Regions from separate parts of the Homo sapiens genome. Here region 2 is linked to region 1. The links are contacts of gene promoters, found by promoter capture Hi-C in human tissues and cell types (Jung and others, 2019). All regions are on one chromosome and are shown on one strand. The core of a region is centred on a gene start or on the middle of the fragment in contact, and the rest is flanking DNA. Distances in the headings are between cores, read along the strand shown.

Region 1 (7,971 bases), core at 1,989-4,488:
CAGGCTCTGAGGTCACCTGGACCCAGCCAAGAGCAGTGTGGACACTGACCTGGTCTCCTCCTGTCTCTATTAGAGTTGGAATGAAGAGCTGATGCTGGGTAGGCTACTGCACCCCCACCAGCCCTTCCAGACCAGGGTATGTGCTGGGTGCCTTCAGCATTCCAGCTTCTACAACAGATCTTGGGAAAAGATAAAGAGGCATTGTCCCTGCTTTCCAGGACCGCAATGCTGGAAGGTGAGCTCTCCTGGGAAAAGATGTAGGGACCACAAATTGCTGGTCTTTTCTCAACCACCACAAACCCGGAGGGTTGGGGAAAGGCAGGGTGCCATGTCTTCTCACTCCCTCCCATCCCCAAAGCTGAGCCCTTCTGGTAGGTTATGCCTGTCCTAGAAAATGTCTCTTGTGTGCCTGGACCTGTAGTTCAGAAGGTCAAAATTGGTCCCTCTTGCTCCTGGCCCCACTCTACCTTTGCCAGCTCAGTTTCCTTATCTGCAAGGTGGGGAATGGGGTGGGGTTTGGCAGCAACAAACCCCACTGTGTGTGAAACCTTCCAGTTCACAGCCAACAAAGCGTTGCTCTCAATTCTCTGAAGCCAATTACCACCTCGGAACCCCAGCTTTTTCCAGGGATAAGATTTGTCTCTGACCTTGCCTCCCTAACCAGGTCTCTGAGACTTGAATGAGAATGCTTAAAACTACCAGAGTATCTTCTGTATGATAAAAGATGAATCGAGGGGTCAGAGACATGACTGATGATATGGTAAGGGATCCTGAATCTGCTTCCATGGTAACTTGGGCTTTTTCTCCTGCTCCAAGCTGTCTGAGGGCCCACCACCTGTCTGGCCTGACCAGGGCCTGCCCTTTCCTGCACGGAAGTGGATGCAGGCAACCTGGATTCTCTGGGGTGCACCCCACATCCCCACTCAGCACTACATCTGCCATACAGAAGTTCAATAAATGCCTCAGCTACTCTGAAATGCCTTCAGTAACTTGACCTTTTATATTCCCCAGCTAATGTCTAATTTGCATATATGAGTCCTTTTTAGGAGATGGCAAATCACCAGAGAAAACGCAGGATCAATACAGAGTATTAGGCACGTTCTATTCTACTCTAATTCTCTGCAAATTGGTATTCCATTAACTGCATGTGGGATTTATGGGAGCTCGCTATAAACTAGAATATTTAACTAGAATGGCCTACTCTGTCAGATAATAGCTTACTGTTGTTAATTTTCAACTAGTCAATCTCAGAAAAGTTTCCAACTTCCAATATACTTCACATCTTGATTTAATCATCCGGAAAGTCATCCATATCAAAGCCTCCATACAACAAAGGGACAGGCAGCTTGATGCAGAAGAAAAAGACCTGCCCTTGGAACCAGGAGACTTGGGTTACACCCCAGCTCTACCACATACTGTGTAATTGGCTGCTCAGAGCCTCCATGTCCTCATCTGTAAAATGGGAGTGACACCAGTCTCACAAGGGAGTTGTAAAGATTAAATAAGACGATACAGGTGAATGTACTCTGTAAGTTCTATAAGGCTATGCAAAGGTTAGTTATTACAAAAGCACAAGATGAAATTCTCAAACAACTCGGGCTAATGACAGAAAGCAAGAATTAAATTGGTGGTTCTAAAGGGGTGCTGGGGTGGCATTTTGCTCCCTAGGGGACATCTGACAATACTGGAGGCATTTTTGATTGGAACAACTGGGGAACAGGAATTGCTACTGGAATCTACAGACCAGGGATGCTTCTAAACCCTACAATGCCCAGGACACAAAGAATTATCAAACCCTAAATGTCAATAGTGCAAGGCTGAGAAACCCTGATCTAAATAATCGCTTAAAGTTGGATTTGGGAGCTTTTTAAAACAGAAATCTTCCTAAGCAGGCTTTACTTTCTCCCATCATCTGCTTAAACATTTGCAAGATGGATCATCTTGCAAAACAGCTCTTTTGTAAGTGAAGCCAACTGCCAACTTCTGGAGTTTCTGAATGTATAAAACTGCTTTTAAAGGAGATGCTCTCTGATTACAATTCGGCTAAATTGTTTTTCCGAAGGCCTTGACTTCGGCAGAAGTTCTCCTGGGCACAGAGACAGGGTCTGTCACTCCACCACTAGGCCCTGAAGATGGTTTCCTAATTCTAATTTCCTCCTGAAATGAGAGCCACGAGGGTCTCTAAACGAATTAAATTCACATCACGCCAACTGCTTGCTAGCTTTGTGCCGGGCACGGTGCCAAACACCTCCACATAATTTATCCCACTTAATCCACTCAACAACCCAGCGAGGTGGGCATTATTACCAGCTGATTGCAAGGGAGGAAACTGAGGACCAGAGAGGTTAAACAACTTGCCAAGGTCACCAGCTGGCCAAGGGGGAGCCCAACTTGAACGGAGGTCTCCAGTTTCCAAGTCACAAGCTCTTTCCACCAGCTTGGAAAACCCAGGTGTCAAGTTGTCTCAACTTCCCATGAATTTTTAAGGCAACCGCAACTTCTCAGTAAGTTTAGGTAGCTGAAAATGGGAATTTCGGGGGGGCTGGGCACTCTCACATACACTCCCCCATCTGCAGCTGTCTCACCGCAGGTACCTGATAAATCATTCCATATCGTCCGCGGAACGGGGAGGATTTATTGGCTCTGGAGTTTCGTGCCAGGCCCAGGAAATGCCATCTTTGAAAGCCGAGAGGCGGATTCGCCCTGGGAGCCGAGCGCTGGCAGCCGCTCTCGGCTAGCTCCCCGCGGGCTGTGTGCCCCCTCGGAGCCCCGAGCCGGGGTCGCGGCGGCACGGGGTCCTCCGGAGGTGCCGGACGCACGGGCTCCGCGGGTTGCGCCCGCCCCTGCCCGGCTGGAGCGCACGCCCACGCTCCGGCGCCGCGTCCCGGCCGCCAGCCCGCCCCGGCCGAGCCCCACCCGGCGCCCCGCCCGCGCCCTCCCGCCCCGGCCCCGCCAGGTGAGCGCAGCGGGGCGCCCCCTCCCCGCCCCGACGTGGTGCGGGGATCCCGGTGCAGCCGCACCCGCCAGCCCGCCCGCGCGTCCGCCGCGCGCCCCAGGGACGGGTGGGGGCGGGGTGGCGCCGAGCGCGACCCCGGCCCCCGGCAGCCCCGCACCCTGCCCCCGGCCCGCTGGGGTCGCACGGGCCCGTACCTGCAGCATCCGGGGGCGCGGAGCGCCCAGGTAGGTCGCGCGTGCGGGCGGCGCGGAAGCTCGCTCGCGGCGCGACCTGGCCGCCGTCTGAGCATGCCCAGTGCCGCCCGCGGGCGGTTCCCGCCGGCCGGGCTGGCCGCGACGGGCCCGCGCGCCGGGCGGGGGGCGGGCGTCCGGGCTGGCCTGCGGTGTTCTCCCGCCCCCGCCCCGGGCTGGCGCGCCCCGACGCATCTCCTAGGGGCACCGGGGCTCTCCGCCGAGCTCCGGGCAGGTCCTGAGTTCCCTCGCGCATGCATGCAGCCATTCGTTCCACAGCCATGACTGGGCACCTACTGTGTGCCAGGCCCTCAGTGATTTCATGCCTAGGGAAGGCAAGAAGTCGGCGCCCAAAGAAACTTTGAAATGAGGAGTCTTGCACGACGGGTGCGCGGTTGAGCTGAGGTCCCGCTGACTTCCAGTCCAGTGCTCGTCCCTTGGCACTAGTAAGCTTCCCTGGTTAAACCTCCCCAAGGCTCGTGGGACCCCTACCTGATCTGTGCTCCTGCTTCCCACCTCCGTCTCATCTCACACCTGCCTTCCTGCGGATCCTAGAGCGCCTTTCTGTCCATCAAACACTCGAACTTCACTAACCTCAGGACATTGGCGCCCGCCTTTCCCTCTGTGGGACGTTCTTGCCCAGCTTTTCACGTGGCCGGCGCCTTCTCATTGTACATAGGTCCCCTCCTCAGAGAGGCCTTTCCTGACCACCTTCCTCGATTAGCCCTCTGCTCCTGACCACTCCGTGTACTCTGTTTTCTTCATAGCATTTAACAGTGATTTATCCATTTTCAGCAAATATTTATTGAGCACCTATTCTGGTTTTTCTCGCGTGGGGAACAAATAGACAAAAATTCTGTCCCCCAGTGGAGTTTGGGGAAAGAGGGACAGGTAACAGATAAACAGCAAATTAGCAAACTATGCATTATATTAGAAAGTGATAAGTTCTAAGAGGAAAAAGAGCAGGGTCAGGAGATTTGGGGCTGGAGGTAAGCAGTGAATTTTCAGTGAAGCGGTCGGATAGGGCCCTTGAGCTGATGGACGGTCTGATTGGGTGACACTGAGAAGGTGATAGTGGTATTTCAGCCACGCAGATAAGCAGGGAAGAGCATTCCTGGCCGAGGGAACAGCCAGTGCCAAGACCCAAAAGAGCGCCGGACCGCTTAGGGAACGGCAAGGAGGCAGAGGAGCAGATGAGGTTGGTCACTTTGGCTTTTCCTCCGATTTGTTTAATTCTCATGTTGTATTTCCCTCCTAAATGTCAGCTTTGGGGCTGTAGCTCTGCTTGTCTTTACTGCAGTGACCCCCCTGCAACACTGTCTGGCACACACTAGGCGCTCAAACATTATTTGTTGAATATGTGAACGAAGGGATGCAGAGATGGTTGGAACCCTCCAGTCGGGCCTGGGTGCCAGGTCCTGGGGGCAGTCGTTCCAGGGATAGACTGAGGCCTCGGCAGCCCCTGGAACCTCATTTCGGTCCTTGTCCCGGAGTCGCACGTCCCGGGATAGCGCCGCTGCAGCGGGTGCCGCCCGTGCATCGCGTCGGGGGGATTTCCGACGGAGCCCGGAGTCCAGGGGCAGGACCGCCCGCGCCCCGCCCGGCCCGGCCCGGCCTCGAGTCGCCAGCAAAACCTGGAGCCGCGGCGCCCGCTCAGCACCACTCGGACGGGCGGGGAGCGCACTGGGCATGCTCGGAGCCGGGCGGGGCCGGAGCCCCCGGAAGGAGGAGCCCCCTGGAGGGGCAGGCGACGCCCCCCGCAGAGCTCCACCCAGCGCCCCCGGGCTCAGCAGGAGGCATTCTCTGTCCTTTCCCCACTGCCTTATCCTCTCTGTGCTTCAACCATTGTGAATACCTACGCTTCGATCTGGGCACCCGAGTGGAAGTTGAGTGAAATAAGGAACGTGAACGTGTTTAGACCACCTTAAAGATCCATTTCTTGAGTGCCTACCAAAATCAGCCGTCATCCTCATGCCAGTTTGCCAACTGCTGAGATGAGGAAACCGAGGTCAACGGAGGATGTGTGAATTTTCGAAGTTGTCTTAATCTGCTGACCCCTAGACTGAAATTACCTTTTCTTTTCCCACAGCTAACAGCTGTTAGCTTAAACGATGCCCTCAACTTTGAGCTAGGAACATGCTTACACCTAAAGGAAAGACCTAAATATTTTAAAAATCATGCGTTTTAAATCACCATAACAGAAGCAGGAACAAAATGAAAGAATACTCCCCAAATTGGAAACAAACTAAGTACTCAATAACAGAGGGATGATTAATTAGGTTATGGTATATTAGTTGAAATAATAACTATCTTACACTAAGTTAAAAAGACCATGTTGCAACAGGGAAAACACGGTACAATGTTAAATGAAAAAAAAAAAAACCGCAGAAAACAGGTCGGGTGAGGTGGCTCATGCCTGTAATCCCAGCACTTTGGGAGATCCAGGTGAGAAGGTAGCTTAAGCCCAAGAGTTCAGGACCAGCCTGGGCAACATAGCAAGACCCCATCTTTACAAAAAAAAACTTATCCAGGTGTGGTGGCATGCACCTGTGGCCTCAGCTACATGGGAGGCTGAGGTGGGAGGATCTCTTGAGCCAGGAAGGTCAAGGCTGCAGTGAGTTGTGATGGCACCATTTGTACTTCAGCCTGTATGACAGAGCGAGATTCTGTCTCAAATAAAAAAAAAAAAAAAAGCTAAAAACACAAATAGATTGTATAAACATGGTGTTGACACATTCACCAAGACTGGAAGGAAATATGGGAAAATTAACTAGTCATTTTTTTGGAGTAGTAAGTTTGGGTGTTTTTTAAAAGTTTATTAATGTCACAATGACATGTTTGCAATAATAAGCATTTAAAAGATCAAATTAAAAATTCTTGTTTTGTGTATATCCAGTTACAGTAACTGCTATTATCAAGCTCAAGTACGATGAATATTTTATATATATTCTCTCTTTAATCCTTACCATCACTCTACAGAGTGGGTGTTTTAGCTCAGTTTTACAGAAGAGAAAACAATCTAGGGGCTGTTCACAGCTGTTAAGGGGGTGAGGATTTGAACACAAGTCAATCTGATCTCAAAGTCAGGGTGTTAGGTTTTAGGACACACTGCCTCTCTGTGTAGTAGATTACCATGTATTGATGATAAGAGAAGCTATATGTCATCTAATTTTGTAGGGTTTTTTGCCTTATTTTCTCTACCCTTTGATGTGTTTGTAGGCTACAGATTACCTTTAAATGTTCTAGTCTCCTGTTACTGTTTTATTCTTGGGGCCAAAATGTTAAAGTCTATCCTTTTAAGCTGTTGCATCTGGAGTGACATAAGGTTATTATTACCAATGACAGTTGATCTTATATCATAAGCTCCCAAACCTTACGTAAATGGGGCTTTTGAATGGGCACATAATCTTCTTAGGCTATTGTTGAACTCAGCCAAGTGTAGAGCAAATTAAAGCCCAATTGGGAATAGAGCTGTACTCAGTCCCAGATCGACTGGTCCAGAGAGGACCCACATAGATTATCGTCTCTGGGCATTCACTTTGGAGGCAGGATCACAACATGATGGAACCACCTGGTCCATGGACTCCTCAGGGACTTTTCTGTGATGAAATGACAGAGAGCTGATAGTCCTGATGATGTTTGCTGAGAGAAAGCCAGGACCGTAAGAGCAGCCCTCCTCCTGCGAAGCTCAAAAATATAGTCACCTCTCTCTCTTAGTGCCAGTAGACTGTACCTGGCTGAAAGATCCAGAAACCGTGAAAAACAATAACAACAAAGAAAACAAAAGAGCATCATTTTATTGGAGAGTAAGATACGCTACAAACTGAATATACATCACAGGTAATGGACCAGATTCGTAAAAGAGGAACAAGAGATGAACATCTAAACATAGTTATTAGCAGCATTCCCAGAAGCTGCCATTGGGGCAGAAAATCAGGTGCCAGGCACTGTATGCAGGCAATTGGTTAAGGGAATTTATAGGAAGAGTTTCCTGGAAGAATCACTGAGGATTGTCATTCGCATCAAGACTTGGGAAGTCTGCCCTACTTGTACTGCTCCAGTGATTTACAAAGCAGTGCTCTGAGCTGAGATGCTAATGCTCATCAATTATTTGTGCTGTTAATGCAAGCTTATGAAGAGCCCGAGAATCCATAAATACATGGGCAAGTGGTGCTGTTAGAATGACATGAAAAGAATATGATGTAAAATACACATGGTATGGTATGTGGGAATTCAGTAGGTTGAACTATAAATTGCCAGGCAGGGTGCAGTGGCTCCCACCTGTAATCCCTGCACTGTGCGAGGCTGAGGTGGGAGGATTGCTTGAGGACAGGAGTTTGAGACCAGTCTGGGCAATGTAGTGAGACCCTGTCTCTACAAATAAGAAAAAAATTAGCTGGATGTGGTGGCACCCATGTGTGGTCCCAGCTACTTGGGAGACTGAGGTGGGAGGATCACTTGAGTCAGGGCGGTTGAGGCTGCAGTGAGTCCTAGTTGTGCCACTGCACTCCAACCTGGACAACAGCAAGACTCTGTCTCAAATAAATAAATATGAAATTGCCATTTTATGGGTCAAAATGGTTGAACATCGGTAACTTCCTGTATTTCAATTTAATGCATACACATAGAACAAAAACTAGAAAAACTGCACCAAAATATTATTGGTGGTGTGTCTGACTATTGCATTTATGTGCAGAGAGGCAGGCTACAGAAGTTATCTTTTACAAATTAGGAGAATTTCAAGTCTTTGGGTGTCTATTTTTTGTATGTCTTTATAGTTCTCTA
Region 2 (7,971 bases), core at 2,975-5,474, 660 kb after region 1:
TGCTCAAGGGATGAAATCATCAATAAGCAGGAAATGTCTTTGATGTTAAATGGCTGTCCACTTCTCTATAGTAATCCTTCACCCTCTTTACAACATTCTTTCTGCATACATCCCATCATTTAATTCAGCCATCATCAACACTGGGTTTGGGCTCCAGACTGTGACTGTCACTGTCTTATGTAACTTGGGCTGGAGTTGGCATCTGAGCCTCTGTGGTCATGACATCCAGGTGTCACGACATCCACCCTAACTACATTCCAGGGTTGTTGCAAGGCTCAAATGACATGAAGCCTACAAAAGAAGTGGTATATAAATCCGCTTGTTACTCCAAAGCCATTGAGTCTGTGATTCTGTAAGCCTAAAATGTTTTAATTCATATATTTTGGTGAAGGCATTTAAGCCCTTTCCTCTGATTCTCTATGGGAGATTCTGTCCCAATCCATAAGCATTTACTTGTGGTTGTTATATATATTTCATAATGGACTTACTGATTACTCAACAAACATGAATTGCCTACCTCGTGCCATGTACCACAGCTACTGCTGGGATCTGGCAATGATCAGACAGGCAAGGCTCTACCCTAATGGAGTTTGCATTCAAATGAATTAAGGGGATTCATAGACAGGTGAAACATACCCCCCTGTCCTCAGGATGACATTATAGCTTAATTGAGAAGACAAAAGCTTCAATAGCCAGATAAGATTTAAGTCAGTATGTGAAAATGGCCTTCACAGAAATATAAACAGGAGTTCCACTGTGCTGTGTGTGAAAGGGAGAAGCTAGAAGCAATGAATATAGGCTGTGCTTTCTAGGTGTTTAACTCTGGAAGAGTGGCTGGTGGGAAGTGATCTGGACACTTGAGAGGTCAACTGGAAAATGATGAAAATTAACCTGGTAATTGGTGTCTATTTCTGGTCCCAGAAGAGATGCAAAAATTTTATGCAGAATATGCATGAAATTGTTCATCTCACCCTATAGTCACATTATTCTTTGAGATTCCAATTAAGTGGTAGCTAGAATCATTAGATGCTTTCTGTTCTGAATATTAACCTTATAAATATTAACTTTGTCCTCATAATAACTATCTGAGGGTAGGTACCCTTATCATCATACCCATTTTACTGATGAGGAAACTAAGATATCAAAAGAGTAAGTAACTTGCCCAAAGTGATTTGGCTGCCAAGTCATGGATTCAAGCCCAAACCGGCTGGCTCCAGAGCTTACACGCTCACCACTGTGCTATATTGTTTCTTAAGCCTTCAATTAAAAAGTCAATCGGAATTTTCAGAGATACATACTAAGTGTGCAGGAGTGAGGTGACCTGAGGTCTGGGATTGGTTTAAAATAATTCAGCAAGTCTAAGGAAGGAAGGAAGAGCCAATTATGCTAAAATCTTGATAAATGTTTACTCTGGGTGATGTTTATAATGTTTATAGGGGTCATTATAGCATTCCCTAATTTCCGTAATAAAAAATAGGAACTGTTTCTAGTGAACTTGGAGATTTTGAAATACTTATTATTGTACTGTTAATATCAAAAGACTTTTCAGTTATCTGGGTAATTTAGATCAAAGCAACAAATTTCACTGTTATTAATGTAATGTGGCCATGAAATGCAGTGCCCTTTTCTGTATATTAAAACCTATTTTCCACCTAATCCCCAAGTGTAACAGCTAAATACCTTAAAAAAAATCAAGAAGGGTGTATCCTGCCAAACATATTTGATAGAATAGCAAAACGTTTGAGTTAGAAGAGACCACAAAGATAACTTCTTCCAAAATTCCCATTTAACCGCTATGGCAGTTAAAGCTAGGAGAATTTAAGTGATCAGCCCACGATTGAAATGGGAATATGAAACGATGATCTATAGTCAGTCACGTAGCCAAGTACTGGAAGAGCAGGAGTTAAAAACCTGGGTTTCCTGGACTCCAGGCCTTTGTATCTCTCATCAGAAGGAGGTTGTGCCAGTAAAGGGCTAAGCAGCCCATATGGAAATGTGGACACCAGGCTTCACTTGTGATTCCTGCTACATCAGGCAGTTGCCAAGTTAGAAGCCTGGGATGTAAGATGAAGAAAGGTGAGTCCCCTTCGGCTTGGAACTGGAAGAGGTCAAATGGCCCTTTCCCCTCCCAAACGGAGCCATGCAAGCCCCATTTATCTTGTGTGTTTTATCCACATTCCTTGTTCACAGGTTTTAGCCGCATCAACCACAAAGGGCATAATTGGAAAAATCATAATTGTTATACTTGAAGATACTTCTCAGAAGTGCATTTGGGGCTCTGTGTCAATAAACCCACCCCATGAAGGGCCAGAAGCCAGGGCCAGGCATTTCTTGGGAGGGAGGGATGGAAATGGTCTTGGTGAGGGTGCGTAGAGTCACCACACCACTGTTGAATTAATCACTGACCTCATCTCTCCATCCTGAGGATTCTTGGAGGACATTGCGAGAGCTAAAATCTCCTCATTCCCAAGGCTGGTGTGCACCTTTTCCATTGCCTTTGTTGGTGTACACTTCTTAAGGTCTGGGAGGCCTCAAACCCCAATGTTTCAGGACCCCAGCAGGTGAGGTAAATGAATAAAGCTGGCCAGTGTAAGACCGGGGCAAACTGAGAAGAACAAACTTCATCCTTATTCAAAGGTTTTATAACACTGGGCTGTCTGCACAAAAAGCCTGGGCAGGTCAGCAGACAATTGACTTCCTCTGCTATAGAGGATAGACCCTGGTGAGGAAAGCAGGAGGCCTGGGTACCATCACTGGCTCCCTATGACTTGAGTACAGCCTTCCCTTGGCAGAGCCTCAAGCGCTTTCATCTGTTAAGAAGTGGGTCTGTGAGTCTCCAAGGTGCCACCACCTCTGACAGTCTAATTCTGTGATCTGTGATAGAATACATATCTCAAAACAACTGGAGCCACTGTCGGTCTGTCCAACATATATTTGCAAAATGCGTGCTGTGCCTGTTTGATCTAACTGACTTTTTGGAACTTGGTGTCCTTGAGATCTTTGGATGGGTTTGTGCATTAACCTTAAGTGCTTTGATCCCTGTAATATAATAAAATGGCCTACACTTAACCATCATTCTGGTACCACTCTCTGTGTCAGAGGTTGTTGCTCTTTTATTTGCCAGTTTTCTTTCTAAAAGCAGTCATGAGCAGACAAGCTTAGAAAGGGTATTTTCTTCGTGTTGTTTCAGGGAAAATAGAGAAAGTCAAACCTCCTCCATCCCCCACCACTGAAGGCCCCAGCTTGCAGCCTGACTTAGCCCCTGAAGAGGCTGCCGGAACCCAGCGGCCCAAGAATCTGATGCAGACCCTCATGGAAGACTATGAGACACACAAATCTAAAAGGCGCGAGAGAATGGATGATAGTAGTGTAAGTTTTTCCTCCTTTCCTCTTTCACTTCTCTGAGCGCGGCCATCGGTGTGGCGTGTGGCATTCCAGTTCAGGCACAAATGTGTATGTCGTTGTCTGGTCAGCATTAGGGTTCCAGTATCAGTTTTCATATATGTGGTTTCACATGCCTGGAACTGGGTTTGGGTTTTTGCCTGTTTCAAAAAAAAATTGTTGATCTTGCAGGGAGCTGGTCCTTTGCTGCCAAGTATAGCTGGAGTCGACCAGCAAGGCTAGTGTGTAAGATGTTTGGTGCATAGAAAGACAGCATGCAAGGGCCACGCAGGGAGAAGGTTGCAAGTGCCCTGAAATCATCCCTATGCACCTGGGAGCTGATTTCTACCATTGCCCAGTAGAGATTTTATTTCTCTAGAAAAGGATGAAGATGCTGTTCCTTCAAAGCCGACACTCTAGGCAATCCCTAACAATGTTACAGTGCTTAAAAGACTGAGTGTGTTTGGGGCTGTTAACAAGCCCATGTGCATAGCTTGAAAGCAAAGAGCCAGTGAAAATGACAGTTGAAAACCACATGGCTACTCTGCTACACCCAAGCCCTCGGAACTTTGCACATAACGTTCAAATTAACTGTGAAGGAAGTCACATGCTCTGTGGTTTCTTTCTCCGGTTAGAGACATAGGAACTGTTGCTCTACACAGTCCCAGGAGCCTGGAGATCAGCCTCAGGGTTCATGCCAACCTCCTGTGGGTCTTCTGGCACCAGTCTCTTAGCACATATTGAAGTCATCACCTCCTCCCCTGACTGCACTTAAGTCACAGATAGCTTGGGTTGGTTGAGGATCCTACTGAGTTTACCTGAGACAGTCCTGGCTTATGCCTGTTGTGGTGTTGTGGTTATTAATATCCCCTTCAACTCTTTTGTTGTTGTTGTTGTTGTTGTTGTTGAGACAGGGTCTGTCTCTGTCACCCAGGCTGGAATGCATTGATGTAATCATGGCTCATTGCAGCCTCGACCTCCTGGGTTCAGGCAATCCTCCCGCCTCAGCCTCCTGAATAGCTGGGACCACACGCGTATGCCACCATACCTGGCTTATTTTTTAACTTTTTTGTAGAAAGGAGGTCTCATTATGTTGCTCAGACTGTTCTTCAACTCCTGAGCTCAAGGGATACTCCCACCCCAGCCTCCTAAAGTGCTGGGATTACAGACATGAGCCACTGCACCCAGCCTGCCTTTCACTCTTGAAAGTGTCCCAGTTTGGGTGATAAACCATCTGGTCACCTTAAACTTGAATGCTATGAAGTTCACAGTAAGAATTCCCTGCTGTTTTATTGCCTTTTATATCCTAGCTGGCTAAGTTAAAGGATTTCTGGAGTTGAAGCCCAGATGCTGAAAGTTGCTTTCAAAATATATGGCGGTAAAGAAAGGAAGAAAGCAAATGGATATCTGGCAGCCTGGCTTCTCACTTGGCATCTCCCAGGCTTTCCCTTTTGTTTACACCTGAACTGCGTGGAGCACTGGCTCAGCTGCTGTATTAGGCTGCAGCTATTCTACTGGGCTCTTCACTGTATTAGACAGTGGGATGATGCCCGGCCCTGGGTAGCTGCTGCAGACATTTCCACTGCTGAACCTCACTGTAGGGGAGCCAGCAGCTCCTTTCGTGAGCCTGCAGGATTTTTCCCTGGCTACTCAGTCACTTTCACCAGCCCTTCTTTGAAGCCCCACTTCAAAGGATAAAGTTTGCCTTAAGAATTTTCTGAAAGTTAAATCATTTTGAAACTTGGTGCTCTAGGTGTCTGGTTTCTTTTCTCCCAGTGACTCTGCTCTATACATCAGCAGTTTTGGTAGAATTTAGCCAAGTGGGTGCCCCACACTCTGATGTGGATGGGGAAGAACAAGTAGAACCACTTAGCATGTGACCCACGCGAGTGTTTGCTGAACACACTCTACTTGTCACTTGTGTATGTCTTTTGTGTTGGAGTGCAGATGATAGGGAAAAATACTCCATACAGAAGGGTAGAGGCAGTTCTCACTCATTTCGTAAAGGCAGAGGGCTGGAAGCTCTTTTGTGCACACGCTGACACTCTGGCAGCCACCTAACAAATGCCAACCAGGTTGAGTTTTTCCTCTGCATGAATGAAGCTGCTTGGAATCAGCGTTTTAATATGCTGATTGCCCTTCACTTACAAATCAAAGAGGCAGCCTCCTGTCTCTATATTTTCCAGTAAATAAACATTTTGAAAAAGAAAGAGACCTAACTAATTAAGCTGTTAATATCCCTGGATCTTGGATTCAAAGCCAAATGTTTTGCACTGTTATTGCTATTACAACAGAACCAAGTTTGCTGTTGTTGAAAATTCTTAGGATCAGGACAAAATCTACCAATCCACTATATGCTCATTTAAGAGACCCAAATCTAAAACAACAAATTCAGATTGCTTCTAAAGCAAAGATATGATCATCAGTCAGGCTTCAAATGAGAGCCTTCTCCTAGCCCTTCCAATTTAGGGGACCTTTTCTCCTGTATCTGTGTCAATCACTGGTGAATGTGTTGAAGTTTACCTGTAGGGATGAACAAACATTCATTTTTTTCCTAACCAATCTGTGGCCCCTTTTCCATTTTTTCTTTTTCTTTAATACCAGAAGGATAGTAATAGAGAGCAGATGGATTGCTGGGGGGATGAGTTGTGTAACTGGCTTACCTATCCGTAGAAGCATAAAGTTAATTCTCTTAAAGGTAAAGTAATTCTGGTCTCTAGCCTCCATTTACATACACTATTCTCACAGAGAAACATGGCTTCTTAGACTCTCCACCCTCTAAGCACCTCAGTGGCTCACACCTACACACCCAGCATCTCCCCATGTTATGCAGCATCACCCCTGGCACCTCCATTTGCCAATATTTTTTCCAGTAAGCCACTTGGCAGCATTTTGGCATGCCGTTTTGGAGATGATAAACCACACCTGAGAATCAATGCCTGTCGCGTGATTAGAACACAACCATGTGTTTGCCCATCGAAAGTAACAGTTATTTGTGAATTGAGCAAAAATAATTCTTATTTTTTATTCTTTTTAAGGAGAAGGCAGAGTTAAAAACAAGACAGGCGCTGATCATTGGAATGTGTATAAAGTGTGATATGTTAGACACAATGGTATCGAGGAGAGTGAAAGACAGAAGGAGAAAGATAGAATGTAGCTACGGCTGAAGTTTTGCTGAGTGAGAAAAACTGATCTTTGCCATCAAAACAAGTTCAGTGTCCCCCGAGCCCCCATCAGGGGTGTGGTGGCCTCTGGGGTCCTGTCCACAGGGACTCAGCTCAGGGCCCTGCTCTCTCCAGTTTTCCACTTTATAAAAAGTCATATGCAGAGAGGCCCCTGGCTTATGGGAGTCAGGGAGTGGTGTTATCCAAAGGTTGTCCCCAACCAGCCATATTTGTTACTAGCTCAGAACTTGAGCAAAGTACTCCCTTTAGTTGCCACAGTCTTCACCCACCTGGGCTGATTTCTTTGTCCTGTATATTGGAGTCACCAATGAGTATCTCCAGCCTCACTTATTAATGGACCTCTTGGCTAATTCTGAGGGCAGGAGGATTACCATCCCCACCCCTACCCACTTACCCAAGGCTGTTTACCAACCTATGCAAGGCCTTTGTGTGAATTAGGAAAAAAAACCACCCTTGTTCCTCTATGAAGATATGAAGATGCAGCCCTGCACCAGCCACACATTTGGGGGGTAGAGTAGGGGACTGGGCTTTAGTACCATTCATCCCTTTAGTCTGATGCTTTTGTGCAGTGCACACAACACACACCCAGATGCAGCAATCCTATTCATATTGTGGGTTTCTCTTATCTGGAAATGTTCTCTTATGTGGAAATGTCCACTTATCTGGGTCTCATACCATTTCTGCTCAGTCATGCAATTCATAATGGACTAGTGAATCCTAGTTTCCTAAAGGGCTTCTTGATGCCTTGCAAAGCGACTGCCTCCAAGGTGGGGTTGCCCACTCATGGACCTGGAAGACATTTGGATCAGTGGGCACAAATGATGGGCTATTTGGATGTTTTTCCTTCAGGCATGAAGAACCCCTCTAGGAAACTCTGATTCATTAGTCCATCCTGAGTGACATGACTGTATTTAGGCAAACAGTATTTTTCCAGCCAATTGTTTCCCTAACCTGACCTGAGCCTCAGAAAGTGAAGATGATGGGTCATTGAGTCAATGATGCTCATGAACATCTCGAGGGTTTGCTTTGCCTTTCTCAGTTGAAGGGATGCTGACCAGAGTCCAAATCACAGCCTCCTGGATGTTCAGCCCCATCTTTACTTTTAGCGCAGGATCTGCCCTCAGTGGGGTTTTCCAGTGTGCTCTCTCTCTCTTTCTCATCCCATGACTTCATTACTGAGAGGTCATCCAACCACTCTGTCTCATCTTAGAACAAGAGAAGACCTCGTCGGTTTTCCTGGGCTACGTCAAAGCTGAGAGTTCCTGGCACACATTACCCTTCCAGACCAGGACATGCATTGAGAGTTGTGGCCATACTCTCGCTCAGTGTGTGAAGGAAGCCTATCTGCCTCCTGTTTCCCCAGACGCTACAGGAAGCTCAGTGATGCCTTGTGCTTCCCTAACTC

The links. The method cuts DNA at HindIII sites, captures the fragments that hold promoters and counts their contacts. A contact is called where the count stands out against the background at its distance.
Region 2: a contact is called between a fragment that was not itself captured here and the fragment with the promoter of PTPN3 in region 1, in 1 of the 25 tissues and cell types used here (dorsolateral prefrontal cortex).

The regions. Positions count from the first base shown.
Region 1 is chr9:109,495,069-109,503,039 of GRCh38, forward strand. PTPN3 (protein tyrosine phosphatase non-receptor type 3) reads right to left here and starts at 3,239. Exons shown (of 26, transcript NM_002829.4): 1 at 3,151-3,239. The HindIII fragment of the contact is 6,343 bases long and covers 1-5,476 here.
Region 2 is chr9:110,153,129-110,161,099 of GRCh38, forward strand. It overlaps PALM2AKAP2 (PALM2 and AKAP2 fusion), which reads left to right. Exons shown (of 11, transcript NM_007203.5): 9 at 3,191-3,369. It overlaps LOC124902244 (a long non-coding RNA gene), which reads left to right. Exons shown (of 2, transcript XR_007061727.1): 1 at 1-625; 2 at 1,952-3,075. Among named protein-coding and RNA genes, the nearest start is that of C9orf152, 51 kb to the right of the region's middle. RefSeq lists a silencer at 3,865-3,914. The HindIII fragment of the contact is 9,360 bases long and covers 1-7,971 here.